Linked DNA regions of Homo sapiens: all the other regions are linked to region 1. Evidence: promoter capture Hi-C in 16 types of primary human blood cells and fetal thymus (Javierre and others, 2016). All regions are on one chromosome and are shown on one strand. The core of a region is centred on a gene start or on the middle of the fragment in contact, and the rest is flanking DNA. Distances in the headings are between cores, read along the strand shown.

Region 1 (6,328 bases), core at 2,352-4,851:
TTATAGAATACATGATCTATAATTACATCTACCCTGGGACTCTGCAAAAGAACACAAGCACCAGAACAAAAGAAATGAATCACTGATAACAAAATGACACTCTAAAATTAAGACCACAAGGTTGTGGGGCATCTGAAAAAGGAAAAGAGCAGCTTTACATTCACTTCACAAAGAATGCAGAGGATGCTGACTCTGAATATTGCCAAACAGATGGACCTACACCAACAGCACCACGCTTCTAAGCCTCCCAAACCAAGCAGCCACTCCGCAGGTCATAGGAGGAGGAGACTCAATTCATATATAAATCAAAATTCATGAAGCATAAGTGAAACATTAAAGCCAATAACTTCAAATCCTAAAAATGCTATTTCCACCCCACAGTTGGTAACGCCCAAAACATGCACAATAAGCATAAGACTGAACAATAGAAACCTGGAAAACCGTTCAGTACACTTAAATGCCCATCACAGTGATTCATGATAAACTCTCATCAAGGCTACTTATTGCCATAAATAAATACCCTACCTATACTTATTCCCTCAACCACCAGCTTCCCAGTTACATCTATAACATACTCAAATAAATCTTTTCTTTTTTTTCCCCCCACCAAAAACAGGAGTTTTGTCACCCAGGCTAGAGCACAGTGGTGAGAGCACGGCTCACTGCTGCCTCGACCTCCCGGACTCAAGTGATCCTCCCTCCTCAGGCTCCCGAGTAGCTAGGACTACTGGCATGCACCACCATGCCTGGCTAATTTTTAAAATTTTTTTGTAGAGATGGGGTGTCACTATGTTGCCCAATCTGGTCTCAAACAGCTGGGTTCAAGTGATTCCCCCCCACCTCGGCCTCCCAACGTGTTGGGATTACAGGCATGGACCACTGTGTTCAGCCTCAAAGCAATCTTTATTTGTATTCACACTATTATCAGTTCCCTTCTCTTAATCTTCTCTCCAGCCAGCCAATCTTTACCTCTTCGCTTCTTCCAAATGACAAAGGTACTCATAAGCCACGTTCTGACGTCTCCTTTCATCCATCTCCTCTGCAGTAAGTCTTTCATTATCCAGGACAGCTACAACATAAAAGAAAGAATGTAAACACCAGGATCTGTAGCCTTCCTGAGTGATAAAAGATTGCCACAGAATCAATTTCCTGCCACTCACCTAGAAAGTCAGGATAACTAATGAGTGTGTAGCCAGCCAGGTGTACTACAATGACTTTCTTAAAAAAAGAACTATGTGGTTTCAACTATAATCATCTTGACCTTTTTAAAAATGTATGATAATATAAATATGTACTAAGTTTCAGTGTAATCTTGAAAAATACTGTCTTGAGATTTTGGCACAAATCTGTCCCTATCTGCCAGAACTCCTTCTAAATACAGATCTGATAATATTGTTTCCCTCTTTTATTAATGACCAAAGCCAGCAGTTATTGAGACATAAGTGGCAGTAATTGTACGAAGCATTTTACACGCATTCTCTCATTGAAACCCCACAACAATCCTGTGATTATCACTCCTATTTTACAGACGAAGAAACTGAGGCTGGGTGAACTCAGCCCCATGGCAAATAAGTGACAGGGCCTGAATCCAAACCTGGAGAGTCTGTCTCCAAAGCCTGAGCTTAACCTTGAAGCAATCTGCTTCCTTCATGGGCACCAGGTGTGGAATAAATTCCTAACTCCTTGGGAAGGCATTCAAGGCCTTTCCCAGTCTGGTCCCAACTATTTTTGGAAACTCTCCTCTTCCCTTCCTCCCACCACTGTGCAGTCTACATCACTCAGTTCCCAACACAGTATCCCTCTACTTTCAATACCTTTGTTTATGCTCTTCCCTCAGGTCCTGTCTCTTGTTCCACATGCCCTATCAAACTTTTTTTTTTTTTTTTTTGAGACAGGGTCTTGTTCTGTCACTCCGGCTCGAGTGCAGTGGCACAATCATGGCTTACTGCAGCCTCGACTTTCTGGGCTCAAATGATCCTCCTACCTCAGCCCCAAGCAGCTGGGACCACAGGCATGGGCCACCACGCCTGGCTAATTTTTTTTTTTTTTTTTAAGAGATGGAGTCTCACTGTGCTGCCCAGGCTGGTCTCAAACTCAAGGCCTCAAACTATCCTCTCACCTCGGACTCCCAAAGTGCTGGGATTACACGCAGGAGTCACTATGCCTGGCCACCTGTCAAACTTTCTACACAGCATTCTTCAAGGCTCTGTTCAAATGTCACCTTCAGGCCAGGTGCAGTGGCTCACACTTTGGGAGGTCGAGGCGTGGGGATCATTTGAGATCAGGAGTTTGAGACCAGCCTGACCAACACAGTGAAACCCTGTCTCTACTAAAAATACAAAAATTAGCCAGTGTGGTGGCCGACGCCTGTACTCGGGAGACTGCAGGAGAATCGCTTGAACCTGGGAGGTGGAGTTTGCAGTGAGCTGAGATTGCACCACTGAACTCCAGGCTGGGCGACCAGAGCAAGACCCCCTGTCTCCAAAAAAAAAAAAAAAAAAGTCACCTCCCGTGCTCATACTGTCTTCCCCAGGCCCCTTCTCCTTACCTACATTACTCTGTATGGCTAGTAAGTTCAGCATCTTTTATCATTATTGCACCTTATAATCATTAGCTTGCACACCTGACTCTCTGATTAAAACGCTCTTTGGAGACAGGGCCTGATCTTACTCATCTTTAATTTCACAAACGTGGCACAATACCTCACGTATAACTGTTGATGCGTGAAATGTTGATCCTTTAAAAAAGAACATTATTCCCACAATATAAAATAAAACCGAAAACCTCAAAATCCCAAAGGGTCCTCCTTTAGCCAATCCTGCCTGCAGTTCAATGACGTCCAGGGCCGACAACAGAAAATGAGGAAGTCAGAGGATTTTCTGCTTCTTTTTTTTTTCTTTATTACTATTTTACTTTTGAAATCTTGAGGAGGGAACTAAGCCCGAGAAAACTGAAGTGACTTGCCCAGGACGGCACCTCGTAGCTAGCCTGGGACCGGACAGGTCTGGACCCTGGTCTATCCCTTGGGTCTACCCCGCAGGCAACACTAGGGCAGCGCCTTTCCACGAAACGGGCAGAGCCCGCGTACCCAGACCCCCAATCCCCGGGACACGCCCTGCGCGGTCATCCTGCCACCTCACTCTAGGCCGTCTTCCCCAATCTCGGCCGAGCCTGGGCGGCGAGAGGCGCTGGGTGGGGCTCCCCCTACCGCGGCCCCAGCTAAGGCGGGAGGCCTCGGGGGTCCTCTCCGCCGCCTCGGACCCCGAGGGGGCGCGAACCAGGGGCCTCCCCGCCCGCCGCCCGCCGCCCCACCGGGACGGCTCTTCCGGGTCCGAGCTGCCGGCAGCCGCCCTGCCCCACCCGCCCGGCCGAGCCCCCAGGAAAATCGCGCCTCGTCTGCAATTAGCCCAGCCCGAAGCCCCCGCGCCGCGGAGCCCCGCACTCACAGCCATAGTGCGGCCGGGCCACGCCCAGCCCGTCAACCTCGTCTGCGGCGGACATGGCGGACGAGCCCGAGTCTCTGCTGAGGAAGCCGTGAAACCTTGGAGGCGCGGACGGCGGTAGCTACAGCTCCTGCCAAGTGCGCGGGCTTGCCGGGGTCCCCGAGGCCCCGCCCCGTGCCGTCAGCCCCACCCCGCAGGCCCCGCCCCAGCGGCACCGCCCCAGCGACACCGCCCTGAGCGGCCGGAAAGAGGCGGGGCCAGAGTCACCGTGCCCCGCCCCTAACTCCGCCCCCTCAGCCCGGCCCCGCCCTGCATCCCGCTATGGTCTCCGTAGGCGGAAGGAAGAAGGTAGAGCCCATCCTCCAATCGGGCTCACGCTGAGCTTGCCCTGCCGGGAATGCCCGCCCAGGTTTATAGCCCCGCCCCCAAGGCCACTGCCCTATCCGCAACTCTAACCGAAAGGCTGCCGGTGTCTGCTGCCTGAAATCAAAATAGTGGGTCATCTCCCTTCTCTTGCCGGCCCAGCTAACCTCTGCACCAATATTTGGAGAAGACACCCTTTGAGGTGACCCAGGTTGTCTTGTTGGACACAAGCAGGCCCCAAACTGCCATGAAAGCCCTCCAACCCCACTCTCCGCAGTTTGGCAACCTGGCCTCAGTCCTCTTAGATTCGGCAGCAGTCACCAGATTACCCAGGTACCCAGGTATTTGAGATGCGGATGCTAAAGCCGAACTCTGTCCAAATTCCCTACCTTTGGATCCCTTGACATTGTTCTTTGCAAGTTCTTTTTAAAATAACTCTTTTCCCGTATCAGGGATGCCTCTGCCCCCTGCACCTTGTGGCTTGCCCTTCAGATATTGGTATTCAACGGTATTCTGTCCGCAGCCCTCTTCTGTTTATTCTTTTTTCTTTTCTTTCTTTCTTTTTTTTTATTTTCTTTTTTTTTTGAGACGGAGTCTCGCTCTGTCGCCCAGGCTGGAGTGCAGTGGCGCGATCCGGGCTCACTGCAAGCTCCGCCTCCCGGGTTCGCGCCATTCTCCTGCCTCAGCCTCCCGAGTAGCTGAGTCTACAGGCACCCGCCACCGCGCCCGGCTAAGTTTTTGTATTTTTAGTAGAGACGGGGTTTCACCGTGTTAGCCAGGATGGTCTCGATCTCCTGACCTCGTGATCCACCCGCCTCGGCCTCCCACAGTGCTGGGATTACAGGCGTGAGCCACCGCGCCCGGCATTTTTTTTTTTTTTTTTTTTTTGAGACGGAGTTTTGCTCAGTCGTTCAGGCTGGAGTGCAGTGGCGCGATCTCGGCTCACTGCAACCTCCGCCTCCCGGGTTCAAGCGACTCTCCCGCCTCAGCCTCCCAAGTAGCTGGGATTATAGGTGCCCGCCACCACGCCCAACTACTTTTTTTGTATTTTTAGTAGAGGCAGGGTTTCACCATGTTGATCAGGCTGGTCTCGAACTCCTGACCTCAGGTAATCCACCCGCTTCTGCTTCCCAAAGTGCTGAGATTACAGGTGTGAGCCACCGCGCCCGGCCCTCTTCCGTTTATTCTTTGCCTACTCAGTAATCTTTTCTACACTCGCCTATAACTGCTGAGGACCCCTCGATATGTATCACCAGACCAGATCGTCTGGAAGTCCCTCAGTATTTTCAGCTAATGAACACTTTCACCTGTGTATAGGGCAGACACTTCAAATCCCACGTGTCAAATACTGACCCTGCTCCTGCTATATTCTCTATTCACAGAAGTACTCAATTCCCAGTGGGAACACCCCAGGCTCCTTGCCTCGCACCCTACATCCAATCTGTGTTTATTTCTGAGATGTCTACTTTTGTCTCCATCCCTGTTGTGATTACACTGTAGTCGCCCTTCTGCCAACTAGATCCTCACAGTTATCAGGGTGTTCTCTCTAAAGTGCAAATGCAATTGTGTTTCTCTTTTTAAATTTTTTTTTCTATTCCTCCCTTCAAGATAATGGGCCAAGTTCAGCATGATTTAGCATGCCAAATCATAGCCTGACTCCAGATGTTTTGCTCCAGCTATTTTCAATGTATTCACTCTTCCTTCAGACTATTAAAGATACTTGAAAACCTGTAAGAACAAAACACCCCTGTAGAAAAGTGGGCAAGGGTTTCATTTATTAAGCCTACAAAGTAAAAAGTTATTTCATTCTTAAGCTTTTAAGTTCACTTTACAAATTGTATTATTCTATTTATAAGTCTAGCACATTTTACCAAACACTTTTCAGAAACTGAATGATTTATTTATTTCGGAGGCGGGGGGGTCACATTTTTATTGGGGGCCACAGGGGACATGGTCTTCTCCATGTCAATGGAAGTGCTTGCAGTTTCTTCAACCACTCCATGCTTGGGCCTTGGGGGTGGCTGGGCATGTCCAGCATGTTCCCATCATCTCGGAGGGGCACTGGGTTGTTGTGGGGCGTGGCCTAGTTGATCCTGGTGGAGTACATGGTATAGGGGCAGACTGGGGTCAGATTTATAGCTAGGCCCCCGATGGTGAGGAACAGGACCAGCACCCGCTCCTTAGGCCAGGCATTCTTGAGAAAGGCAGCCGCAATGGCAACGAGGACATAGAGCATTCTGAAATTTCCTGAAAATTTTTTTTTAAGTCTCACTCAGTTAATTCAACATCTTCAAATATTTAAAATTATGCCTACTAGGGCAGGCACAGTGGCTCACACCTGTAATCCGAGCACTTTGGGAGGTCAAGGTGGGTGGATCACCTTAGGTCAGGAGTTCGAGAGCAGCCTGGCCAACATGGTGAAACCCCCGTCTCTACTAAAATACAAAAAAATTAGCTTAGTATGGTGACACACGCCTGTAGTCCCAGCTACTCGGGAGGCTAAGGCAGGAGAATCACTTGAA
Region 2 (6,328 bases), core at 1,151-3,650, 240 kb after region 1:
GGATTCCGTTGGGCCTGTCCAGTCGTTACTTGTAATTTTTCAAAACACAAACAGAAGGCCAGTTGATTCATTTACAGTGGAAAATGCAATTGGCACACAATTTGGAAATATTCAAAGGACGTACAAAGCTGTTCAGTGAATAAGAAACTCAACTAAAGACAATCAGATGGACCAAATAGCTAAAGACATCAGGTCAAGAAAGCCCAAGGCAGCCATGTTACCATGCCGAGTTCCAACTCCTTAGCATCATTCATCCTTACATCTGGATTTCATCAGGACTTTTAAACACTCAGGATGCAGCCCCCTCCCATGGCCACGAGGACTGAATATAGCCCTGGGCAGTTGCCCACCCACTGCCTCCGGAATGGCTCATCACCAATTCTCTGGGAGAGATTCTGCTGTCAGCGATGATCTCAGCTTTTGGACTTGTACCTGTTTGGATTTGGCTAGTCACTGGATGACCCATTTAGATTCTGTAATCTGGCTTCTGAACAGAACAACTAGGGCCAGGTAGGGTAGTTCACACCTGTAATCCCAGCGCTCTGGGGGGCCAAGGCAGGAGGATCACTTGAGATCAGGAGATTGAGGCCTAGGCAACATGGCGAGACCCTGTCTCTACAAAACAAAAACAAAAACAAAAACAAAAACAAAAACAAACTAACCAGGCATAATGGTACATGCCTGTAATCCCTGTGGATTAGCAGGCCAAGGTGGGAGAATTATTTGAGCCCAGGCATTCAAGACCAGCCTGGGCACACAGTGAGACTCCATCTCTAAAAAAAATTTAAAAATTAGTCAGGTGTGGCCAGGCATGGTGGCTCACGCCTATAATCCCAGCACTTTGGGAGGCTGAGGCAGGCGGATCACGAGATCAGGAGATCAAGACCATCCTGGCTAACATGGTGAAACCCCGTCTCTACTAAAAATACAAAAAAATTAGCTGGGCGTGGTGGCGGGTGCCTGTAGTCCCAGCTACTTGAGAGGCTGAGGTAGGAGAGTGGTGTGAACCTGGGAGGCGGAGGTTGCAGTGAGCCGAGACTGCGCCACTGCACTCCAGCCTGGGGGACAGAGCGAGACTCCCTCTCAAAAAAAAAAAAAAATTAGTCAGGTGTGATGGTGCCTGTAGTCCCAGCTACTCAGGAGGGTGAAGTGGGAGGATCCCTTGAACCCAGAGGCTGAGGCTGAAGTGATCAGTTACCATGCCACTGCACTCCAACCTGGGCAACAAGGCGAACAGAGCCTTTTGACATGGACTTAGAGACCTGCCTCACCTTGGCATCAGTCCACTGATTTGGGGGCTGTCATTTGACCTGACCGTTCTAGTGTCTACTCCATATTTCTCCATCTTGGCTGCAAACAATAATAAGTCTGTTAGGAGACCTGCTGAATCTAGGATCTCTGTGCCTCACATCACGAGCTGAGGTTGGTCTGGGGCTGCAGTTGATGACCCATTCCAGCTCCCATGAATTGTCACATCCTTTTCTACGGGGTCCTGAGTCACCCTTTAATCTTGCTTAGCCCTCTGCCCCAATGTTTGAAGTTTCTGTTGCCTTCCTTTCAGGAAAGGGAATGGCGTTTTGACCCTCTCCAATCTTTCAGCGCATCTTCCATTGTCGTTTTTCAAAGACCAGTGGCAGGGACTCAGCATCCCGTTTCTCAGTAGCCTGGGATAGAACTAGTCTGGGCCAAAGGACCTAAACTTTTTTTGAGTAGCCAGGCACTTGTTTACAAACTCTTCGGCCTATCTTGGACCAGCTAAGAGCTACCTCCCTCCCTGGCAAAGCTCATGCACACAGTTCCCTCCCAGGTCTGAAAGGCAGAGACTGCCCCGCCCCCACCACACTGGCCACAGGTCCCACCTTCCATTTCAGCCTCTGCCAGAAATCCCCCTGCCCCATCCGCTGTCTGTCCCCTGCAGCTACTAGCAGCAGGCCTGCCCTTTCTGAACAGAACCAAAAGTTCCTTTCAATTGTCTTCTCTGGCAGCATTCTATTACAGTTGTTTATTTCCTCCATTACAAAAAGTAGCACAAGCTCATGAAAGAAAATGTAGAAAATCCAGCTAGGTAGCAAGACAAAGGAAGGAAAAACAACTTCCTGCCCCATTACCTAAGATCAAGCACGGTTAACATTTCAGTACCAGTACCGTAGGGAGGCTATCCTAACAGGCTCCTGTGTCTTTTTTTTTTGTTTTGTTTTTTTTGAGACAGAGTCTTGCTCTTGCCGCCCAGGTTGGAGTGCAATGGCACAATCTCGGCTCACTGCAACCTCCGCCTCCTGGGTTCAAGCGCTTCTCCTGCCTCAGCCTCTGGAGTAGCTGGGATTACAGGTGTCCACCACCACGCCCGGCTAATTTTTGTATTTTTAGTAGAGATGGGGTTTTGCCATTTTGGCCAGGTTGGTCTCAAACTCCTGACCTTGTGATCCACCCCCCTCAGCCTCCCAAAGTGCTGGGATTACAGACATGAGCCACCGTGCCTGGCCAGGTCTCCTGTATCTTTACATGCCTTCTTTTAAAATTTCCTTTTAGGCCGGGCGCGGTGAGACTCTGTCTCAAAAAAAAAAAAAAAAAAATTCTTTTAAATCTGAGCTCTAATTATGAACATTTTGTATACCCTTTGACAAAACAATTCCACTTCTGCAGAATCCCTGTGACTGTGCCCAAAGATTTGATCCACCAGCAACCCCGGCACAAGGGGCCTGTTCTCCAGAGCACCAGCAGGAACAGGTGTAGCTGGAGGGCAAGGATGTTACTGGAAGCAGTTTGGACAAACCCAAAAAAGGTCCCTCACTATCACAGCAGTGTTCTTTGGGGAAGAAGGTAGAAATGAGGAATGAAGGGTATATTTTCACTTTTACTTTATACACTTAAAAAAAAAAAAAAAAACAGGGCCAGGTGCGGTGGCTCATGCTTGTAATCCCAGCACATTGGGAGGCCGAGGTGTGAGGCTTGCTTGAGCTCAGGAGCTCAAGACCAGCCTGGGAAACATAGTGAGACTCTGTCTCTACAAAAAAATTTTAAAAATTAGCTAGGCATGGTGCATGGTGGTGCACACCTGTAGTCCAGGTACTTGGAGGCTGAGGCCAAAGAATTGTCTGAGCCCAGGAGCTTAAGGCTTCCATGAGCTGTGACTGTGCCACTGCACTCCAGTCTGGGTGGCAGAGTAGGTCTTGTCTCAAAACAAAAATAATCAAAATAAATAAATATAAATAAAAACAAAAAAACAAGATTTTTGCAGAGATTCTTGTCTTAGTTTTTCCATTTCTGATGTTCCCATATTTTCTACAGGGAGCATATGTTGCTTTTGTAATCACAGAAGTGTAAGATAGTGGTATGGACTGAATTATGTTCACCAAGAAGTTCTAGCTTCATATGTATTTGTAGGTAAAGTCTTTAAAGAGGTAATTAAGTTAAAATGAGGTCCTTAGGGTGGGCCCTAATCCAGTAGGATGGCTGTCCTTATAAGAAGAGAAGATTAGGCAGGGCCAGGCACGGTGGCTCATGCCTGTAATCCCAGGACTTTGGGAGGCTGAGGCGGGCGGATCACTTGAGATCAGGAGTTGAGACCAGACTGACCACCTGGTGAAACCCCGTCTCTATTAAAAATTCAAAATTAGCCGGGTGTAGTGGTGCATGCCTGTAATCCCAGCTACTTGGGAGACTAAGGGAGGAGAATCGCTTGAACCCGGGAGGCAGAGGTTGCAGTGCGCCGAGATCACGCCATTACACTCCAGCCTGGGCAACAAGAGCAAAACTCTGCCTCAAAAAAATAAAAGGGAAGAGAAGATTAGGACACAGACATGCAAGAGGGAAAAATGTGAGGACACAAGGAGAAAATGGCCATCTGCAAGCCAAAGAGAGACACCTCAGAATAAATCAGCTCTGCAGACACCTTGATTGTGAACTTCTGGACTCTAGAATTGTAAGAAGCTAAATGTCTACGGTTTAAGCCACCCAGTCTGTGGAACTTTTGTTATGGCAGCCTACCAAATTTGTTTGCAAATTACATTGCAAACAAATGCAATGGTCAGGAGTTTGGGACCAGCCTGGCCAACATGGTGAAACGCCCGCCTCGGCCTCCCAAAGTGCTGGGATTATAGGCACGAGCCACCGCGCCCGGCTGTCGGTCACTTTTTGGTGCGTGGCTAGAATTTGAGCTTCAGTCTGTGAGTCAGGGACCAAGCAGAGGATCCCACAAAGCAAAGAGTGAGGTGTCTCTCCTGCAAGCTGCCACCACCGCAGTCACACCAACAGGCTCAGAAAGCCCTGAGAGCAGTTCTCAGTGAGGAGTGGTGCCCAATAGAAAGCCTATATCCCCTGTTGGTGACAGTGGGGAAGAGAAAGGCCGGAGTCAGGGAAGTGGTGGCTCTTGGCCAGAAGAATATTCCAAAGAGCAGACGGCAGAACGTTCCATTTGGTGGCCCCTTGGGGCCCACCATATACCCAGGTGTTCTGACCCTGTTGTGGGTTCCAGACCCCTTTGGAAATCCAATGAGAATAAGGAACCACCCCCTAGAAAGACACAAACACACACACACACACACACACACACACATAGATTTGGACACTAATTCAGGGAGTTTGTGTCCTCCTTGAGCCAACATTCAGGTTCTCTAATTTCAAACCTCTGCTCTACTGAGAACCATAAAAAAGCAGTTTATGGAACTGTTCGACCTGGCTCCTGCCAGTGCAAAAACTGTTCACTGAGCAGAAGACGAGATGGGACTGAAAGGTAAACAGTCAGATGTAAACAAAGAGAAAGCCAGGAACCTTTACACAAACATTCCCGCAAAGCAGGAGGCTGCAGGCTCCATGTGGCTCTGAACACAGCTTTTCTGATAGCAGAGACTGAATTGGGCACAGAACATCTGCTTTGCGTAATGTGCTCTTTGCAGAGGCAGGCAACAGAACCTGTGGCCCCAGAAATGTTTCCCCTTGAGCTGAAGCTTATCAGAGAACAGAAAGATAGGTGGAACCACGTTCCAGTGTAGATGAAACTGACCAATATGATAAGAAAATGAAACTGTGAACATGTATGAGTAAGCCCCAGGGTTTTGTGTGGCCATCTTCAGGGACTCTTGTAGGCAGTGACGACATGGTAGGCTTGGGAAGCTCTCTGGGCTCACTCCTACATTCTCTGAACACTAGACTGTAAGTAGTAGAGAAGTAAGGGCTCTTGCCTATATATTGGATTATTGTTTTCTTTCTTTCTTTCTTCCCTCCTTCCTTCCTTCCTTCCTCTCTCTCTCTTTCTTTCTTTCTTTCTTTTTGAGATAGAGTCTTGCTCTGTCACCCAGGCTGGAGTGCAGTGGCGCAATCTTGGCTTGCTGCAACCTCCGCCTCCAGGGTTCAAGCAGATTCTCCTGCTTCAGCCTCCCAAGTAGCTGAGACTACAGGCACGCACCACCACACCTGGCTAATTTTTGTATTTTTAGTAGAGATGGGGTTTCACCATGTTGGCCAGGCTGGTCTTGAACTCCTGACCTCAAGTGGTCTGCCTGCCTCGGCCTCCCAAAGTGCCGGGATTACAGGTGTGAGCCACTGCACCCAGCTGCAAGCAGCTTTTTGATGACCTCCTATGGGAGATGAGATTTGTGAAGCTGACAGCATAGCACAGTTGTTAGGACACCAGACTGTGGACCCTCAGTTGGCTGACCTTGGTGGCTCAGATTCCAGCTCAGCCCTTTTCTTTCTGGGTAGCAATGGGCAAAGTGCTGAAGCACTTTCTGTGTAAATTTTCTCATCTGTAAAATGAGGATAACAAAAGCACAGTTGTGAGGACTAACACAGCTAAAGCACTTAGACAGCTGCATCTAATAGTGTAGCCATCAGCCACAGTACCTACTGAGCACTTGAAATGTGGCTTGTCTATCCCAGCTACTTGGGAGGCTGAGGCAAGGAGAATTGCTTGAACCTGGGAGGCGGAGGTTGCAGTGAGCTGAGATCGTAACAATGCGAGACTCCATCTCAAAAAAAAAAAAGAAAAAGTAAAACAAAAAGAAAACGTGGTTTGTCTAAACTGAGATGTACCCTGCGTGGTGCTCGCGCCTGTAATCCCAACACTTTGGGAGGCTGAGTCGGGAGGCCAGGCACAGTGGCTCACACCTGTAATCCCAACAGTTTGAGAAGCTGAGGCGGGAGGATCGCTTGAGCCCAGGAGTTTGTGACCAGCCTGGACAACATGGTGAGACCCTGTCTCTACAAAAAAAAAAAAAAAAATTTAAAAATTAGCCTGGTGTGGTGGCATGTGCCTGTAGTCTCAGCTACTCGGGAGGCTGAGGAAGGAGGACTGCTTGAGTTTAGAAGGTCAAAGCTGCAGTGAGCCATG
Region 3 (6,328 bases), core at 2,833-5,332, 240 kb before region 1:
CAGCCTGGGCAACAGAGTGAGACCCTTTCTCAAAAAAAGAAAAGAAAATCATGAATTCATTCTGCATTATTGACACTTCTGCTCTGATTTCACATATAAGAGCGAACAGACTGCACTTGAGACCTCATGGGTGCTTGGTGTAATAATGAGTGTAACCCAAAATAGTAAAGAGGAGGAATGCACTTCCTATATCTTGCAGTCTGTTTCACTGTAGTGGTTGGTCTGTCTGTGTGTGTTTACCTGGGAGGTAGGATATGGGGCCAGTGGGCTGGTTGAAGACAGCTGTCTGCTGAAACCTTGATGTGCTTCAGGGCCAGGAGAAAGCGTGAGAGGGCTGACGGGAGGCTGCCGACGCCGAGACGGGCCGCTCAGGTTTGTGGTGGAAAGAGATGGGTTGCTAAGGGAAAACAGACGGAGCGAAGGGTGAAGAGCAGATGCGTTGGGAACAGATGTCTGTGGGTGGTTATTTAAGGAAGAGGAAAGCACAGTCTTATTGAGCGTGGCTTGGATGGAGGGGTTACTCCGAGAACTCTGGAGACCTGGAAGACAACAAATTCACAAGTTACTTATAATTTCAGACCAAATCTTTTGTATTCCAAAAATGAAAGAAAACTGTCTACTGTCACATGCGATGATGATTCTGTAGGTAAAGGAGCTCCTGGACAGCTCTCCTACAGGGACTGCATCCGATGCACCAATGGCAAGGAAAAGATGCCCCTGCACTAACAGAGATGGGGCCACAAAGATGACAACGATGTTTTCCCATGAGGAGGGAGATCACGTCAACAACCCCTAGGTGAGCAAAACTAGGTAAACCGGGGTAACAGAGGCAAATATTCCAGGTGCTCGGCCCAGACCCAGGGAAAGGACCCTAGGGCTGTACAACAAATTCTGTTTAGAGCCCCGGAAGGTCTCTGTCCCAAGCACACTGCCTGCATCCCCTGCTACCTTTGGAGAACATCCTTCCACGGCGAGTCATGGCCCTTGGGGAGCTGTCTTGGTGGTCTTTAATTACCCTTAGCACACTAGGGAGTCACAGGAAGGGACACTTCCCTGTATCTCCCACCCCAGGGTCCCTCTTTGATTTTCTGGTTCCCAGGAAATTGTTCATCACAGTCTATACCAACTCAGGGAAAAGGAAGTTTTTGCTGGTGCTTTATTTGGGGGACAGGGGTGAATTTGATCATGAGCAAGGAAATTTGGGAGAGAGATCTTTGCAGCATAGGCTGCTAGGGCATGAGCTCCCAGAAACTGGGGATCCTGTCCTATGCCCTGCTGGATCCTCAGCACCTGGCACAGGGCCTGGCATGGAGCAGGTTCGCCCAGTGAATCAATTATTCGGCTGCTGCTGCTGTGTGTATCTCAACTGGCAATACCTACGTTTTAACCTTCAGCCCATCTTTCTTGTACCAGCAGGTGGGGTAAGCAGAACTATGTGTTGTTTCGTGTTGACAAAAAATTTAAGTGTTTGATAAAAGTTACGAAAAGGAAGAAATGACAAAAATCCAGCAGCTGGCAAAATTATTATTATCACTATTATTATTATTATTTTTTTTGAGACAGAGTCTCGCTCTGTCACCCAGGCTGGAGTGCAGTGACATGATCTCAGCTCACTGCAAGCTCCGTCTCCCGGGTTCACGCCATTCTCCTGCCTCAGCCTCCCAAGTAGCTGGGACTACAGGCATGTGCCGCCACGCCTGGTTAATTTTTTGTAATTTTAGTAGAGATGGGGTTTCACCGTGTTAGCCAGGATGGTCTCGATCTCCTGACCTCGTGATCCACTCGCCTCGGCCTCCCAAAGTGCCGGGATTACAGGAGTGAGCCACCGCACCCAGCCTAAAATTCTTAAAAATAATTTTGCCGGCTGGGCGTGGCTCACGCCTGTAATCCCGGCACTTTGGGAGGCCGAGGCGGGTGGATCATGAGGTCAGGAGATCAAGACCATCCTGGCTAACAAGGTGAAACCCCGTCTCTACTAAAAAAATTAGCCGGGCGTGGTGGCAGGTGCCTGTAGTCCCAGCTACTGGGGAGGCTGAGGCAGGAGAATGGCGTGAACCTAGGAGGCAGAGCTTGCAGTGAGCCGAGATGGCGCCACTGCACTCCAGCCTGGGCGACACAGCAAGAGTCTGTCTCAAAAAGAAAAAAAAAAAAGAAAATACAGAAACTGACATTGGTTCTGACATGTTCTGGATAAAATAGTGCTTTTTTGAGAAGACAACCAGTGACTAAACATAAGATCTTCAGCTTGAAGCAAAGTGTCAAAGGCTGTACTGGAAAATGCCAGCTTCCCTGAGACCCAAAGGAGCTATGTGCTGATGCTGCTTTACTTCTGGGACCCTAGATATCTTCATACATTGAGGATTCACCCAAAAGGTGAATTGCCCAGACTCTGAATCTGGGCATAAAGGTTTCGAGAGTTTCTCCTGTGAAGCAAATATCAAATTTCTCCTATGAAGCAAATGTATAAATATCAAAACTGAGACTCAGTCGATGAAAAACCTGCTACTATTAAGGATACTAAAATGACCCAAAAAACAAAAATAAAGGTGTTCTCTGAAATCAATTCTTCAAACCTAAGATTGTGTTGCACCAGGCAGCATCACTGCAATCATTAGAAAAACTTCCAGGTGACCCCCCCTGAAGGGGACCACTCTCATTTGGGTGGTGAGTTCTGATTTGCATGGATGAGTCTCAGAGTGAAAGGCAGCAAACACTGCTTTCACCTGGAGACCATCACTGAGCATCCCTTCCAAATGAAATGCTCCACAACACAATTCTGGGTAGGACTGTTACGGCCAGGGGCTGTACTGCACCACTGGGAGTAAGAGGATTATCACCTGCCCTAGACATTGACAAGGGTATGTCAGTGGTGGCTCACGCCTGTAATCCCAGCACTTTGGGAGGCCAAGGCGGGTGGATCACTTGAGGTCAGGAGTTCGAGACCAGCCTGGCCAACATGGTGAAACCCTGTCTCTACTAAAAATACAAAAACGATTAGCTCGGCATCGTGGCACATGCCTGTAATCCCAGCTACCCTGGAGGCTGAGGCAGAAGAATTGCTTGAACCTGGGAAGCAGAGGTTGCAGCGAGCTGAGATCGTGCCACTGCACTCTAGCCTAGGTGACAGAGTAAGACCCCATCTCAAAAAAAAAAAAAAAAAAGTGTCAGGCTTCAAACAAATGTAGTCATAATTTCAATATGGGGTCTGAGCTGTGGACAATCAAACCCAGAGAGTAACACCCAAGTCCCATTATGGGTAGCATCTTTATATAGCTAATGCTACATCTTTAACTGGAACTGTGGGGGATTTCTACTTCACACACAGATATTAAGTATAAATATTTTCATCATATCCACTGTAAATTTTCTAAAATGCAGAATATTGCCTTTAGAAATCTAATGGAAAATGAAAGGAATCCAGAGAGATGGCCTAAATTATAAATTATCATATGTTGATGACAGCCACTAATACTGTTCAGCCAACACGGAGTGGATGCTTATTTCTTGGCTCCCATATCTTATTCCCCAAGTCCCTGGATAGAGCAGCGAGTGAGGATGATAAGGAATGAGGTTCAGCAGAGCTGCCCCAAATTCATCAACCCAGGAGAAACAGAAACATCCAAGAAAAATGTCCGCAGGGTCAGGAGATACAAGAAGGTACATTATCATCTCTAACTGGGATGCAGTCATTCTCATTCAATGATTCACTGAACAGGCCACATGGGTGGGGACCACCTATGATTAAGCCACCAGGTCACTGCTAAGCAGGAGATACTCACCAGAGGAGCTTCTTATACCCAGGTGGGTCATAGCAGCTGGGATGTTGTTCACACTATTCCCCACACTCATACTGCCAAAGTGGTGGTCGGTGGTGTCCAGGGAGGCTGGCAGGGGTGTCGAGTAGTGGAGGTTGGTTAGATCTGGCAATGACCCTCCAGTGTTCAAGGTCCCCAAGAAGGGTGAGAGGCCTAGGTTTTGACCATTATGTGGAAAAGCACTGAAAAAAGAAAGATTAAGAATGACTTTCTACAATGTATTTGGCTGTTGGGAAACCAAACATGGCTGAAACCTTTTCCTTGTCAAATAAGAGCAGTGGCTACAAAAGACCGAGGTCCTGGTGCGGCCTCTCTGATTCTGAGAACACTGGTGCTCGGCTTAACCTCTCCGAAACACATATCCTCACCCACTACCTGTGCCCACATTACAGGAATACTAGATTAGGGTCTAGAATAATCAAGACCAGATTAGATTATGGATGCAAAAGTATTCTGAAAATTATAAACCACTCTATAAAATGTGAGGCACTGCTATTTATGTAGTTCTTTTTGCTAGATTTTTAAGTTATCTTTGCTACCAGAAAAAGTATCTCTGAGTAACTAGCTACCTTCCAATATACCTTCCAAGATATATTTTTAAAATTACAGTCTTCATAAACTTTAAAGTGACAAAGAGATGTTGCCATTCATTCATCACAATCTATGGGCTAGGCACTGTGTGCCAGGCAGCGGGCCGCATGTTGGCGGCACCATGATGAACAAGCAGGGCGAGTGTGTCCGCCGGGGTCAGGCCTACTCCTGAAATGTACAGGCCTGGAGCAAGAGTATAAAAGAAGGCCCGCATACCATCTGTTTCCATTTTTAAAAGTTATAAATCAAATGAACAAACCCTTACATGAACTTTGTTCTATGTGTCTATCCTGACATATTATACCTTCATAATAGCCTGTGAAGCCAGATTTACATGTAGAATTCTCAGACTTCTTGGAGTTCTGTGCCAGAATGCACAGGGAGACAGCCTGGCCCTCAGTCCACGTCCCCTTCTCTTCCCCCTAGTTCTGTTCTGTACTGCAGTACGCACATAGCTATCCCAGCCTATGCAGCCAAACTCTGTCCACACCCTGCTGACTCTCTAGCCACCCCCCAGGCCTAGTGCGTATACACTGGTGGTACGTTCCCTTTGGGAATGAAGCCCTCTCAAGGGCGGGGCCCCAGGGAGGGGCCTGCTAGCCAGGTCTGAGAGGACCTTGTTTTGGAATTCACAGATGGGCAGGAGAGACAGCCTGGGAAAGCAAGTAACTGCAACGTGGCAGGAAGCGCGCTATGCTGGGTTTGAGAAGGGGTGTGTGTAACCAGTGCATATAAGTGACACCGGGAGCAAAAAAGCAGGAGTTGTCCATGTCAGGATGGGCTGTGGAGGGGACGGGTTTGCCATGGATGTGACACAGTGTGTGCGTGGAATTAAGAGTAGCTGGGCATGGCTGAGGTGTCAGGTGTCAGGGCAGAGGGTGAGGAGGGAGGGTGGCACATGGGGAGGGAGAGGCAGGCGGGAGAGAATGTGCTGTTCTCAGGAGTCTGGATCAGGGACTGTGGAAAGAGGGAGGCCAGGTTAAGCTGGAGAATGGCGTTTCAGAAATGTCACTGTGGTTCCAGTGTGGAGGATGGCCTCAGCAGGCAGAAGGAGAGGCAGGGAGAACCAATTAGAAGGACCACCTGCAGTGGTCCAGGGGTGATATAGGAAAAGAGCAGTGAGGGTGACGCGGAGGAGAATGCGGGAGAAGGTGCCACCAGCCAGGAGCAGAGGGAAGTCACGAATCCTGAGGACACTTCATTCCCTCCTGCACACATCAGCAGAGCACCTCCCAGGGGCCAGCCACTGGCATCAGGGCTTCAAGAGACTGAGCCATAAGGAGCATAACCGGCAACATAATACAATTCAGTAGTGCAGTGATAGAGCCTGGAGGGAGGCCATGTGGAGGGAAGCCCAGCTGACCTGGGGAGGCTTCCTTGGAGGACATCTGAGCTTAGTTTAAAGGCTAAAGAACTCAGGTGATCTAGTCAGGAAAAAGATTTCAGGCAAAGCTCACAGCATGCGCAAAAGCAGGGAGGTGTGAGACCACATGGTGTGCCCTCAGAACTGTGAGGATTCAGACCACGGGAGGTTGAGTTTAGGAGGGCTGGTTAGTGGTGGGAGATGGAAGTGGAAAAGCAGGTAGAGAGCACCCGAGGCTGGGACTGATGAGAGGCTGACACGACGCCAGTGGAAGGCTGGACGCGGGGTGGGCAGTGTGGTGGGGGAGAGGTATCAGCTTTTCTTAGGACAGCGTGGCTAACAGACTTGGGGAAGGGGTCTTGGGGTGCACGGAGCAGGCCTGGAGGTGGAGAGGCCGCTATGACTCTGCTGAACGCTCCAGCAGGAGGCCACGAGCGCAGGGAGGGAGAGGCAGGCTAGACTCTAGAGACAGGGAAGTAGGACTCAAGAACAACTCTGGGGCCTTTAGCCTGGGGACTGGTGGAGCCCCTCACTGAGACAGGGGACACTGAAGATGTGA
Region 4 (6,328 bases), core at 1,472-3,971, 200 kb before region 1:
AGTTTGAGACCAGCCTTGGCAATATGGCAAAACCCCATCTTTACAAAAAATACAAAAATTTGTCAGGTGTGGTGGTTCACGCTTGTAGTCCCAGCTACTTGGGAGGCTGAGGCAGGAGGATCACTTGAGCCTGGGAGGCAGAGGTTGCAGTGAACTGAGATCCTGCCACTACACTCCAGACTGGGTGACAGAGGGGAGACCTTGTCTCTAGTAAATAAATACAGAAAGCAAGCAAGAAAGAAACGAACCTGTAAATAGGACTCTATGTGTTTTAAGGAGGGCCTTAGGCTCAGGATCTGAAAAGCACTCTACTGTTTCAGAACATGGGACCTAGACATCAAATGAGGAAGAGAAGGCTTCTGTGCCTCCATACAGAAATGGTTCTCCACATCAGTGTCTGGGATCCAGTGCTAGATAGACCGGGGAGGGGAGTGACATGGCTAATGCTAACGGCAGAACTCTTTCTGTAATGAAACAGGACGTGTGAATCTTCCAAAAGAAGCAGAGTTGTGGATTTCCAGGTAGAAGTTTAGAGCTAACGGCAGACAGTACCATACTCCCGGAGTACTTCCCCAAGGGACCTAGAGCTCAGTTAGATGAGATATCAGTTACGTGTAGGTGCACACCTACCTATCACATAGCATCTGAAAGCTGCAGCCTGGGATGAATGGCTGAAAAGTTGCAACTAGATTTCGTCACCTAGGGGGGAAATTACTTCCTCTAATTTAGACACTATTGATCTATCAATGTGACCTACATTTGCATTAACTGTTTGGGTAGATGTACTGTACTGTTGGCATATCATTATGTTTGTGGTTAATTAGAAACCCCAGATCTTACTTGACTGGTAAACCATAAGCAGATTCCTACATAAGCCCACGCTAAGTTAGGAAATGAGCTGAAGTCCAAGAATTGGAGAGTTGTTGTTTATTATCAACTAGGAAGATTATCATTATCAAAAGCATATATGGTACAGTATATTCTTTATGTGTGAACAATCAAGACATACATTTTTCTTCTGCAGCTAAGTAGCAAAATAAATCCTAGCTTATAGTTGTATTTTTATACAGTTATTAAAAACAGGAGAAATGTAATTTCCAAATACCTTGAAGTGAAATATGGGTTTCTAAATGCTAATGGTATGACCAAATACATCCTTCCATGTAAGAAGTTCTACAGGGCCAGGCACGGTGGCTCACACCTATAATCCCAGCACTTTGGGAGGCCAAGGTGGGTGATCATGAGGTCAGGAGTTCAAGACCAGCCATGGCCAACAGAAACCCCGTCTCTACTAAAAACACAAAAATTAGCTGGGCATGGTAGTGAGAGTCCGTAGTCCCAGCTACCGGGAGGCTAAGGCAGAAGAATTGCTCGAACCCAGGGGGCAGAGGTTGCAGTGAGCTGAGATTGTGCCACTGCATTCCAGCCTGGACGACAAAGCGAGACTCCATCTCAAAAAAAAAAAAAAAAAAAAAAGAAGTTCTACCAAGTTTTAAAAAATATATTAAAAACATGCAGAAAACCAGGATTAAGCATATAAATGGTTAATACTTTGAAAAAGTATTGATCCAGAATACCACAACCTCAGCATCTGTACAAAGGGGTGCCTAATCGATATTCTCAAACAGAAGCAATTCTACATAAGACAACTCTTAGTAGCTTCAATGACAGACCTCATGATGACTCGTGATCAAGAAAAAAAGTGATAAAACTCCTGCAAGAGCAACACATATTTTCCTGGAATACCATCGTCAACACTGGGAATGGGTACTTGCATGAAGCTTCAATATTACAGAGGACTGCACCGGAATGTGATGTCACCATTATTTTATGCTATGAGGACAATGTGCTAGCTTGAGCCAGGGGTCATTTATGTGGCAATTTCAACCATCTCAGTGGTGAGCCAGAAAGCAAAGAAAGCCCCTAAATAACAAAAATGGATAAGAACCCCAGAGGACAGCAGTTAGAAAGGAACCCCTCCAGTTCTGCATCACACCCCACCCAGGTCTAACAAACTGAGGCATCTCATTTTCCAGCTTGCAGTAGGTGAAAATAAGGTGGGGATAGGCAAAGGAAGGGAACTGGAGTTGCTGGCTTAGCAGAGAAAGCAACACAAGTAAAAGCAAGAGGGAGTGGAATTCTGCTCTTTCCTTCTACAGATGGGAAACCAAGGTACAGAGAGCTGAAGTGATTTTTCTCAAGATTGCAGAGCTAGTTTGTAGCAGCCTAAAAACTAAAACTCAGGATCCCGAGCCTCATTCAGTATTCTCTTTACCTCACCGCTTTGCCTCCTTTGCTATATAGCCTACATAAAATCAATTCTTTTTGAGATTTTACACAGATTTGTACTGATATATACAGAAGTTAAAAAAAAAAATATTAAGGAATTTTCCAGACTGGGCACCATGGCTCATGCCTGTAATCCCAGTACTTTGGGAGCTCATGGTGGGAGGACTGCTTGAGCCCAGGAGTTCGAGACCAGCCTGGGCAGCATAGCCAGACCTTGTCTCTGCTAAGAATTTAAAAACTAGCTAGCCACAGTGGCACACACCTGTAGTCCCAGCTACTTGGGAGGCTGAGGTGGGAAGATCCCTTGAGCACAGGAGGTGGAGGCTGCAGTGAGCTATGATCATACCACCGCACTCCAGCCTGGGGCACAGAGCGAGACCTTGTTGTTTCAAAAAAGAAAAATGAAAAAGAAATTCTCCAGATAAATTGTATTACATTCTTCTAAATCCACTGAAGATTTAAGATTCAATTACAGGTTAACAGTCTTGCTAAGACACCTGACTATGATGCAATACAAACGGCACACCTACAAATTGACGTTGGCTCCAGTAGTCTCATTTGGAGTAAGTATCTAACTTAATATTTATGTAAACGGTTAGCTAAAAGTCACAAAGCTATTCATTGACGATAATGCTTCCTCTGATAGAATTAAAATGCTACCCCAACCCTTCTTAATTCCTCTGTATACTTGGGTTTGTATCTGTTTCCAACAGAGCTTGGGTAGGAGAGGAGACTGGTTGGAAACGTAGCTGGTAGTAGAGACACTAGATAGGGTAGTGTCTATCTACCCTATCTGCCGTTAATGCTTGGCTCTAACGGCATCCTTAAACTCATCACTTAGCTCTACTGGGCCTCCAGCTTGCCCATGATGCTGCTTGGTTCTTCTTTAGTTTACTTCTTTAGTTCTTGACAAATGTGCGACAGATTGGCCACCAGTACTAAATAAATTTCTGTTGGTGTCCACCCTGGACGACATAATGAGACCACAACTCTTTTTTAAAAATTCTGCTGGGGGCCGGGCACGGTGGCTCATGCCTATAATCCCAGTACTTTGGGAGGCTGAGGCGGGAGGATCACCTGAGGTCAGGAGTTCGAGACCAGCCTGACCAACATGGTGAAACCCCATGTCTACTAAAAATACAAGATTAGCCAAGCATGGTGGTACATGCCTGTAATCCCAGCTACTGGGGAGGCTGAGGCAGGAGAATTGTTTGAATCCAGGAGGTGGAGGGTGTAGGGAGCTGAGATCGTGCCACTGCACTCCAGCCTGGGCAACAGGAAAGAAACTCCATCTCAAAAAAAAAAAAAAAAAGCGTTGGTGAAGAGTGGAAATTTATCAAGTTTAGGAAGTAAGGCAGGTTCCTGAAGCTTGCAGGGCTCTTTATTTATATGCAGACTGAAGCTAATGGAAGATGTTATAGCCCCCCTCTTTTAAAAAGGACAAGTCTAAATAACAAAGGAACAACTGTGCCTCTCTTGGGAACCCAGCTGGAGATCATTCTAGGCACTGCCAGCACCTCCTTTGATTCTCATGACAAGTGGGGGAGTCGTGAAGGCCTGTCCACAACAAAGGGGCTGCTATTAATTCACACTGCCTTGGGGTTAAATGGATCATTTAAGTCTACCTTACAAACTAAGCGGAATAAAAAAGGATGTCATACTTGGTTAAATACCCTATTATAACATCATTCAAAAAAAAAAGAAAAGAGAAACTTCAAGAGAAGTTCAAAATGTATAACAAATCTCCAGCGTCAGACCTGCCAGCACCCAGCCAGCCTCTCTGACAGCAGCCCCCAACACTCTTCCTTTGCCCTCTGCAGTGCTTAGGTATGCCAGCAGGCAGGGGCTTCAGTTCACAAAACTCCTGTGAGGCTCCCAGCTGTTCTGGGTTTTGGAAGGCTTTTCCCCCAGCAGCCTGCCAGCACTACACTATCTTTGGGGCTAGTCTATTCCAGTCTCGCAGAAGTGATTAGACTTTCAGAGCCCTTGAACCACCTAGATGGGTTTTTTGTTTGTTTTTAACCTGGAGGCTATGCCTTTTTTGACCAGCTGATCTGGGGATCCAATCTTCTCCAAAGGACCAAATAAGTCTTGCTGTGAGGCATGAAAAGAAGAGATGAAGAGCAGAACAGACCAGAGAAGGCACCAGCACCCAACCTGCTGATTTAGGACCTGGCCTATCACCATGTCTGTGGCCCTTGTGTTGCCCCTTCCTAGTCTGTATTTTTAAATGAAAGATAAAAGGGAAGTAAAGTTAACAGATAAACTAAGTTAAAAGGTGACTCCAGAAAATGATAGAGATAAAACAGTTTTGGGGTTGTTTTGTTTTTAGCAGGTAAAGTCAAAATCAGACCAATCAAAATGATCACAGAGGGCCAGGCAAAATAATTTCTCAAAATAAGAAATAATGGCTGGGTGTGGTGGTGGCTCACACGTGTAATCCCAGCACTTTGGGAGGCCGAGGTGGGAGGATCGCTTGAGCTCAAGAATAGGAGGCCAGCCTGGGCAACATAATGAGACCCCATCTCTAAAAAAAAAGAAGAAGAAATAACGACAATGCATAAAACACGCCCAGAGTTCATGCTGGGGGATCCTGCTCAAGAAAAGGCAGAGAATAAGGTCTATGTCTCAGGCAGAGCTTCTCACCTGGAGAAGATGGATCATGTTCATTCCCTGACCCTGATGGAGCAGGCTGTAAGCAGTGAGACCTCCCCCAGCATCTTCCCTCCAGCATTTGCACAGCGTCAGCCACACAGTGGGCTCCAACACGTGTTTGCTGAATTACATAATGTTTCTAAATGATTTGGCTCCAAAGAGGAATGTGTACCCCCAGGGGATTTACAGGATGGCATAGGGTATGGGGAAAACATTAGAAGTTCTGTTTCCACTTAGCTTTCTATTTTTTTGTATACTTAATATTAACAATACAGTGTTATATGTACATAATTTAAAAAACAAAGAACATACCCAAATTGGGGATATAAAACTCTTTTTACTACTAGGCTGCATAATCAAAAAGTTTAAATGCAAAGTGTTGATCGTTATTAAAAACTGGTGAGGGCTATATGGGAGCTTCTTATTCTACTCCTACTTTTCTGTACAGCTACAAATTTCCACGATAAAATGAAGAATTTCAGCTTCAAGTTCTCAGGGATGGCATAGCAGGGTGAATGCAGACCCAAGCCTCTAAAGGCACTTTACTGTCTTTCCACAGAGCGCCACCCAAGCCTCCACAGAAGTAGAAGTTTTAAACTGCCTGTTCCCATCCCCACCTCCCCACCTGGTGTGATATCTTTGGGTGGTGAGGGAGGCCTTCCGTTGAGTGTAGTTCTCCTTTTAACTTTAATGCTAATAAGACAATGACTAGAGAAATATGTTCTGGGTAAATCAGGTTTGCCCATTTATCTCCTCCAGAGGAAGCTGATTTGCTTCTTATGGTGATAGAAAGGAACTGCAGAAGGGAAGAACTGGCTTTTGATCAACTAAGACTTGAGCAGTGGCAGGAGTCCGGCCTAGTGGCTGGTAAGGCAACTGGCCAAAGGCACCCTTGGAGGCCACAAGGGTCAGGTAGGCACTTCAGGCCAAGCAGGAAAGGAGACAAAGTGCCTGAGCCTCTGTTCATCCCACACCAACCTCTTCCTGCCGTAGGAAATATATGTAAAAGACAGGCACCTGTCAGCCTGCCGACTCCCTCCTTTCACCCCCACTGCATTCTGAATCACACCAGATCCACCGCTGTGATTCAACTTGGTAGGACACTTCACTGAGTTTAGAAGAGATTGTAATTTGGAATTAAAAGAGAAAAAACAAAGGGGAGGGGACAGATGAAACAAGAGTGGCAAAATGTTGAAAAATATTGAATCTGGTGATGAGTCTATGGGGGTTCTTTATTCTACTTTGGGGAAGATTTTACATTTCCAAATAACAAGTTTGATTTTTTAATTAAAGTTATGATACTGTCATAAATTAAAGGTGCCTTTTCAGTTTTAACTCAATAACTTCTACATATATGCCAAAAAAAGAGATGAAGGCTGTGTTT
Region 5 (6,328 bases), core at 1,394-3,893, 180 kb before region 1:
GCTTCCTCAGCTCTCTCAGTCTTCATAGAACAGAAGAGAGTTAGGCTTTGCTCTAGATTAGCCTTTGGCTTAAGGGAATGTGGTGGCTAGTTTGATCTATCCAGACCACTTAAACTTTCTCCTTATGAGCAAATAAGGCTGTTTCACTTTCTTATCATTTGTGTGTTCATCAGAATAGCACTTAATTTCCTTCAAGAATTTGTCCTACCTTGGCTTTCAACATGCTTTCCTCACTAACCTCAATCATTTGCAGCTTTTTATTTAAAGTGAAAGACATGCAACTCTTTCTTTCACTTGAACACTTAGAGGCCTAATTTCAATATTGTTATCTCAGGGAAGAGGGAGGCCCAAGGAGGGGGAGAGACACAGGAATGGCTGATCAATGGAGCAGTCAGAAGACACACAACATTTCTCTTGATTAAGTTCACCAACTTATGTGGGTGATGTTCACGGGACCCCAAAACAATTACAACAGTAATACCAAAGATCACCGATTACAGATCACCATAACAGATATAATAATGAAAAAGTTTGAAATGTTGCAAGATTTACTGAAATGCAACAGAGACATGAAGTGAGCCACATGCCATTGAAAAATGGCACCAATAGACTTGCTCCATGCAGGTTTGCCACAAACCTTCAACTTGTAAAAAGCACAGTATCTGTAAAGCAGAAAAAGCAAACCACAATAAAACAAGGTGTGCCTGTATACAAGAGCACATTGCATTACCCACTCACCAACACTGAATATCACTCAAAAATTTGTCCTAATTTAATGGGTAAAAAGGCTAAGTTATGACTTTGATAATTAGCCTTTATTGGCATTTATATGCTCTAGGTACAGTGTTAGATGCTTCGTATACATTATCTCGTTTAATCCTCACGACACTGTGAAGTGCTACTATTATTATCCCCACCTTACAGATTAAGAAACCGAGACTTAGAAAGCTTACATTGGCCAGGCACGGTGGCTCACACCTGTAATCCCAGTACTTTGGGAGGCTGAGGTGGGTGGATCACATGAGGTCGGGAGTTCAAGACCAGCCTGACCAACATGGAGAAACCCCGTCTCTACTAAAAACTAAAAATACAAAATTAGCCAGCGTGGTCACGCATGTCTGTAATCCCACCTACTCGGGAGGCTGTGGCAGGAGAATCGCTTGAACCCGGGAGGCAGAGGTTGCGGTGAGCCAAGATCGCATCATTGCACTCCAGCCTGGGCAAAAAGAGCGAAACTCCATGAAAGGAAGGAAGGAAGGAAGGAAGGAAGGAAGGAAGGAAGGAAGGAAGGAAGGAAGGTTGGTTAAATTGTTGAACACAAGGCTTGTAATGGGTAGAGACAGGCTTTGAACCCAAGCTGCCTTACTCTTGAGTCCATACTCTATCCATTCCTGCCTATGGTATCTTATTGTTTTAATCTATGTGTCATTGCTTACAGTGACAACAAATACACTCCCAGATGTTTCTTTGCTGGTTAGGTTTCCTATTTTCCTGATTTTTCTAACCATGGCAAATTCGAAGGGTCAGAGGTAGCTTAGAAGGTGGAGTTTTAGAGATAATGGTTTGACCATGGGCAAGACAGAACTGGTAGTAAAAGCAGATGAGAAGCAAGAAAAGAACATCAGTAGTAACTGCAGGGACTAGTCTCGGGGCCTTTGTAGCCTTTACTGGATGGCGGGGATGATAAGTTCCACAAGCTAAAAAGGCCAGACGTAGGGCAGAGAAAATAATAGAGGAGGGTCTAGCTTCTGGTCCTCTGAACAGCTTCAGTAGTTCCTAAGAACTATTTGCACACTTTTTTCTTGTGTGTGAAGGCAAAGGAGCAGCTACTACCAACCCTAATGATGTCATAGGGTTAACAAATAAAGAAATCAGGAAATGGTTTCTTTTTTCTTCAAGAAATACTCTGGTTGAATTTCCTCAACAGGTTTCAACTTCTGCATTCAGAGAAAATAGTTCTGTTTTAGTAATTCAACAAAAGAACAAAACACTGCCAGACGGAGAGCTGGTAGTTACTAGCATGAACTCCAGAATCAAAGAGCCTGGACTTCAAATCTGGCTTTACCATTTTTGGCTGTGTGATGCAGGGAAATTGTTTAATCCTTCTTGGCCTCCACAGTCTTCCCTGTAAATAGAGACAGTAATAGTACCTACTCTGGGGTTACTAGAAAGAGTAAATGATGTATGCAAAGCCTTAGTTAGCCATATTGCCTGATGCACAGCAAAAGTTCAGTACATTTTTGCCAGCAGTGGTCATGATAGAAGTGGTAGAAACACTAATATAAATGGCAGTAATTTTGTTTGAAAAAAAGGAAGGAAGGCGGGAAGAAAGAAGGAAAGAAGGAAATTATTTTTTCTATTTCATTCAAAAACAAAGGGCAAATATGTTGATCAAATGGTATGAAGTGGCTGAAAACCTTCAGACTAAGTAAGCAGAACTTGATTCCTGTACCAGCCACTTACTAGCTGAGTAATGTTGAGCTTATTACCTATTTTTTCTTGCTCTCGGTTGGCTAACCTTAAAGGGGGAGTGTTGCATGAAAAGTGCTGCACAGTCCATTGTGGTTCTAACAGTTCTGATGCCTCTGCCAGGGCAAGTAGTGCAATACAGAAAGATGTCTGTGCCAAGTGAGAGCCATCCGCTCTTAGCAGAAGCTCGGTCAAGGCTATGCTTTGCTCCTCATTAAATGTTTCCCCTTTAATATTCTTCTCTCTGCTTCACTTGAGTTATATTTTAACTCAAGTTTATAAGCTGTTTTAAAACTTTTATTTTTATTTTATTTATTTATTTATTTTTTGATACAGAGTCTCACTCTGTTGCCCAGGCTAGAGTGCAGTGGAGTGATCTCTACTCACTGCAACTTCCGCCTCCTCGGTTCAAGTGACTCTCCTGCCTCAGCCTCCCGAGTAGCTGGGATTACCGGCATTGACCACTCCATCTGGCTAATTTTTGTATTTTTAGTAGAGACAGGGTTTCTCAATGTTTGCCAGGCTGGTCTCAAACTTCTGACCTCAAGTGATCCACCCGCCTCAGTCCCCCAAAGTGCTGGGATCACAAGCATGAGCCATCATGCCCAGCCCGTTTAACTTTTAAATGCTAGTTCTAAATTAATTAATTCTAAATGAACCCCCAAAACTTCTCGGAGACTAAGCAGGCACGGACTGGTAGAAAGCGTCTCTTGAGCAATTTCATGAATGACAAGATGGCAGAGTAAGAGATACTGAGAGAGACAAGCACAGGCATGGCCAGTGCCCAGCAGCCACTGCAAGGGGGAGTCACAGCCTGTGTGGCCTGGTCTGCTCCTGTTGGCCCACCCCATTCTCACTGGCTTTCTGACCTTTTGGCTCCTGCTTGCGGCTGGTCTGGCTTGCCCCCTCCAGTGTCAACTGACCCCCCTCTTCCATCCAGGCTGTTGCCTCCCAACTCTGGCCTTTCTTAACCAAGTTCCAGGGTGAGACTCTCAGTTCAGGCGAGTTAAGACTCACCCAAGGAGAGACTTCCTAGGTAGTCAAGGGAAGGAAAGTTTGATTTGGACTAAAAGTAGTAAAAAGATTTCTCAGGTGGCCGGGGGAGTGAATAAGCAGAATATATTCTAAGACGAGAAACCAAACAAAAGTGGTACTAAACTGGGCATACGATGGTTCCAGGGGACTAGAAAACGGCATCTATCCAGACTGAGAAAAACAAAGCATAAAACACGTTTCCTAGGTAAAAACAAATTGGTTTTGTGTGTCTACACTTGCTTAATTTGCAAAATAAGAGCAAAGGCCCGAGAAAGATAAACCTGGGTTTGAGTCCTGACTGTCACTTGCCACTTGTGTGACCTTGGGCATGTTACTGTTTAAGCATCAGTAAAATGGGGATGATAATGCCTATCTCAGAAGGTTGATGTGGGAACTCAATGATATCAGGTACACAAAGCATAGCTCAGGTACTCAGTAACTGTTCGTGTTCTTCTCCTCACCACTCTTAAACTTCTGTCATATGTCTGTGGGGAAGTGTTTTCCCTTGCACTCAAGAAAACTAGCATAAAAGAAAGTGGTTACCCTGGTGACTTCCTCCAAAGAGGTTACAGGAGAAAATGGGGAGGGGAGAGCTTTCTCAAGTCACATCCCCAAGAGGCTGGCGGTAGAGACAGAAAAGAGCTAAGACATTAGCTATCTGTTGTCGAGGCAGCCAACTGCTTATAGCCAGGGAGTTCCTTGAGGCACTGACTATTGCCTTTGAGCAGGGAAATAATTACAATGTCTGGCATCAAGGCCTGTGTAGAATCTTCCACAGATGTTATTCTGTCTCTTGGAAAATATCCACAGTAATAATAAACAACTAAAGCTTCATTTTAAGTTTAAAGTATAAAAACTAGCTGTTTCATAACATAGGGACCAATTCTAACTCCTGACTATTGTGAAATTTTGTAGGGAATTGGAACAAAACTTTGGCTGGTTCTACAGCCAAAACATGTAGGGACTTAAAATTCTAGTTAGAGATAATCACTACTTTAAATGTAGTGCCTCTTCTCCCTCTTTTGTGAGCTGGCAGTCAGAGGCTGGATTAAGGAGATAGGTAAGAGGATTGCTTCATACTAATATGATTGAATTTAACACAGATTCAAAATGCGAGGGAATATAGAGACCTAGCTTCTTTCCTGGTCCTACACTGCCACCGCCCACATGTGCCTTCTCTGTGGGTATTCTTTCTGCCTCTCTTGAAAGCTGCACTGAGTCAAGGCACTAACATACAGCCTGGTTGACTTCAGGACAGGCCGATTAAGACTTCAGCAAAAGTATTTTTATCTAGTCTGTGAAGAATTAGTAGGATGCAACTAGCCTGTATGACATTTAAGAAGCTTCATATAATGAACAGCAAAAGCTTAGTTCTCTAGGCCTAGGTAGGATACCTGCAAAGAAAGAGGCAAATGGTACCAACAATCTATTGAAGTCAAATTAGAAGGCTGCAACAGGGAGTTTATACTAGGAACTTTGCAATATGTATTGAACAACAACTGTGCTGGGCATTATTCTAAGGATTTACATGCATTACCTAACTTAATCCTCCCAATAGCTCTATCTTAGGTACTATTAGTAGCCACATCTTGCAGATGAGTGAGCTGAGACACAGAGAGACTAACGATCTTGTCTACGATCCAGTGCTAGTTAGTGGTGGAAGTGGTCACCAGATCCCCACTCTAGGGACTGCACTTGTGACCATCAACATGAAAATTTTGTTTATTTTGACATATTGGATGGCAGGTCATAGAGACTTATGACAGAGACTTACTAAATTGCTTGATCAAGAAAAGGGCTTGTATGGTATTAAATTTTGTTGACCAATTTTGTTGAACCCCCCAAGCGGCTTACAAGACAGTTCTTATGTGAGACATCTCCACAAACTAAACCTGAACCTGCAGGGTGCAATCAGGAGCCTTGGTAATTCATTCCAGGACTTTTATTGTTCAGACTCAAACAGGACCTGCAGCTCCAGCAGGCAGCATCTGGGCGCTGCTCTCATTCCCTATTGTTCTGACAGCCAGACCTTTGAGGATCTGCAGAGCTGGTGGCCTGATAGGAAGTCACACGATTTCAGAAGAGCCTGCCAGGTTTTGACCATATGAATTATGTGTCTAGTTTCTGAGGCTGCCTCTGGAGTTAACCCCACAGGGGATATCTGAAGTATTCATCGTCTGCCCCAATCATGCTGCGTAGCTGAGGAGGGTGGAGTAAGCTAAAAGCGAATTCTGCCCACAGGGAAGACAACGGATGCCTGGTAACTTGGAGCTAAGCCCACAAATTCCAGAACTCTTTTGAAATTTCTGATTATGTGGCCAAAGTCTGGGAAATGTTTGGGTCTACTTGGCTCTGAGAAAACACATTCTCTTTCAAGAATCTGGTAGAACCAAGGATGAGAGCCATCATCAGTGACGTAAACTGGAAGTCAGGATTTAGAGGTGTCCTGACTGAATGGACATCCCACAGAGTTCCAGCCCTCAACAAATACTAGCTGAATGAATAAATCCCTATTCTCAAGTATTTGATCAACCACCAAACCTGGAGCGCTAACTAGATGAATAAAAGAAGGTTCCAAAAAACATCATCAAACAACAAATGATGGTATGAGGAAAGCTATTTATAACATATAAGACAACATGTATCTCTAACATTCGAAGAACTCCTACAATTTGATAAGAAAAAAAACTGAGAAAAGGTTATGAACAGGAAATTCACAGAAGAGGAAACCAGAATGGCCGGTAAATACATGAAAAAGGCCAGACATGGTGGCTCACGCCTGTAATCCCAACACTTTGGGAGGCCAAGGCGGATGGATCACTTG

Evidence for each region. Contacts are between HindIII fragments. The CHiCAGO score rates a contact against its expected background, and 5 or more counts as called.
Region 2: a fragment that was not itself captured here is called in contact with the fragment with the promoter of IQGAP1 in region 1 in 2 of 17 cell types (total B cells and naive B cells); the score reaches 6.3 in total B cells.
Region 3: a contact is called between a fragment that was not itself captured here and the fragment with the promoter of IQGAP1 in region 1, in 2 of 17 cell types (activated CD4 T cells and total B cells). The highest score is 6.1, in activated CD4 T cells.
Region 4: a contact is called between a fragment that was not itself captured here and the fragment with the promoter of IQGAP1 in region 1, in 2 of 17 cell types (total B cells and monocytes). The highest score is 5.4, in total B cells.
Region 5: a fragment that was not itself captured here is called in contact with the fragment with the promoter of IQGAP1 in region 1 in 1 of 17 cell types (total B cells); the score reaches 6.3 in total B cells.

The regions. Positions count from the first base shown.
Region 1 is chr15:90,385,515-90,391,842 of GRCh38, reverse strand. IQGAP1 (IQ motif containing GTPase activating protein 1) reads right to left here and starts at 3,601. Exons shown (of 38, transcript NM_003870.4): 1 at 3,447-3,601; 2 at 970-1,069. The coding sequence starts at 3,501. It also overlaps the pseudogene NDUFA3P4. RefSeq lists a silencer at 3,098-3,877. The HindIII fragment of the contact is 8,546 bases long and covers 1-5,622 here.
Region 2 is chr15:90,147,955-90,154,282 of GRCh38, reverse strand. No RefSeq gene overlaps it. Among named protein-coding and RNA genes, the nearest start is that of IDH2, 49 kb to the right of the region's middle. RefSeq lists an enhancer at 4,885-5,094. The HindIII fragment of the contact is 5,097 bases long and covers 1-4,948 here.
Region 3 is chr15:90,623,445-90,629,772 of GRCh38, reverse strand. It overlaps CRTC3 (CREB regulated transcription coactivator 3), which reads right to left. Exons shown (of 15, transcript NM_022769.5): 10 at 3,780-3,997; 11 at 241-539. The region is part of intron 3 of CRTC3-AS1 (CRTC3 antisense RNA 1); the gene reads left to right. Among named protein-coding and RNA genes, the nearest start is that of LINC01585, 34 kb to the left of the region's middle. The HindIII fragment of the contact is 9,195 bases long and covers 1-6,328 here.
Region 4 is chr15:90,581,511-90,587,838 of GRCh38, reverse strand. All of the region lies in intron 2 of CRTC3 (CREB regulated transcription coactivator 3), which reads right to left. Among named protein-coding and RNA genes, the nearest start is that of CRTC3, 55 kb to the right of the region's middle. RefSeq lists enhancers at 3,491-4,002, 4,003-4,514. The HindIII fragment of the contact is 1,876 bases long and covers 1,784-3,659 here.
Region 5 is chr15:90,559,876-90,566,203 of GRCh38, reverse strand. The region is part of intron 2 of CRTC3 (CREB regulated transcription coactivator 3); the gene reads right to left. Among named protein-coding and RNA genes, the nearest start is that of CRTC3, 33 kb to the right of the region's middle. RefSeq lists a silencer at 2,422-2,551 and an enhancer at 2,823-3,323. The HindIII fragment of the contact is 3,385 bases long and covers 951-4,335 here.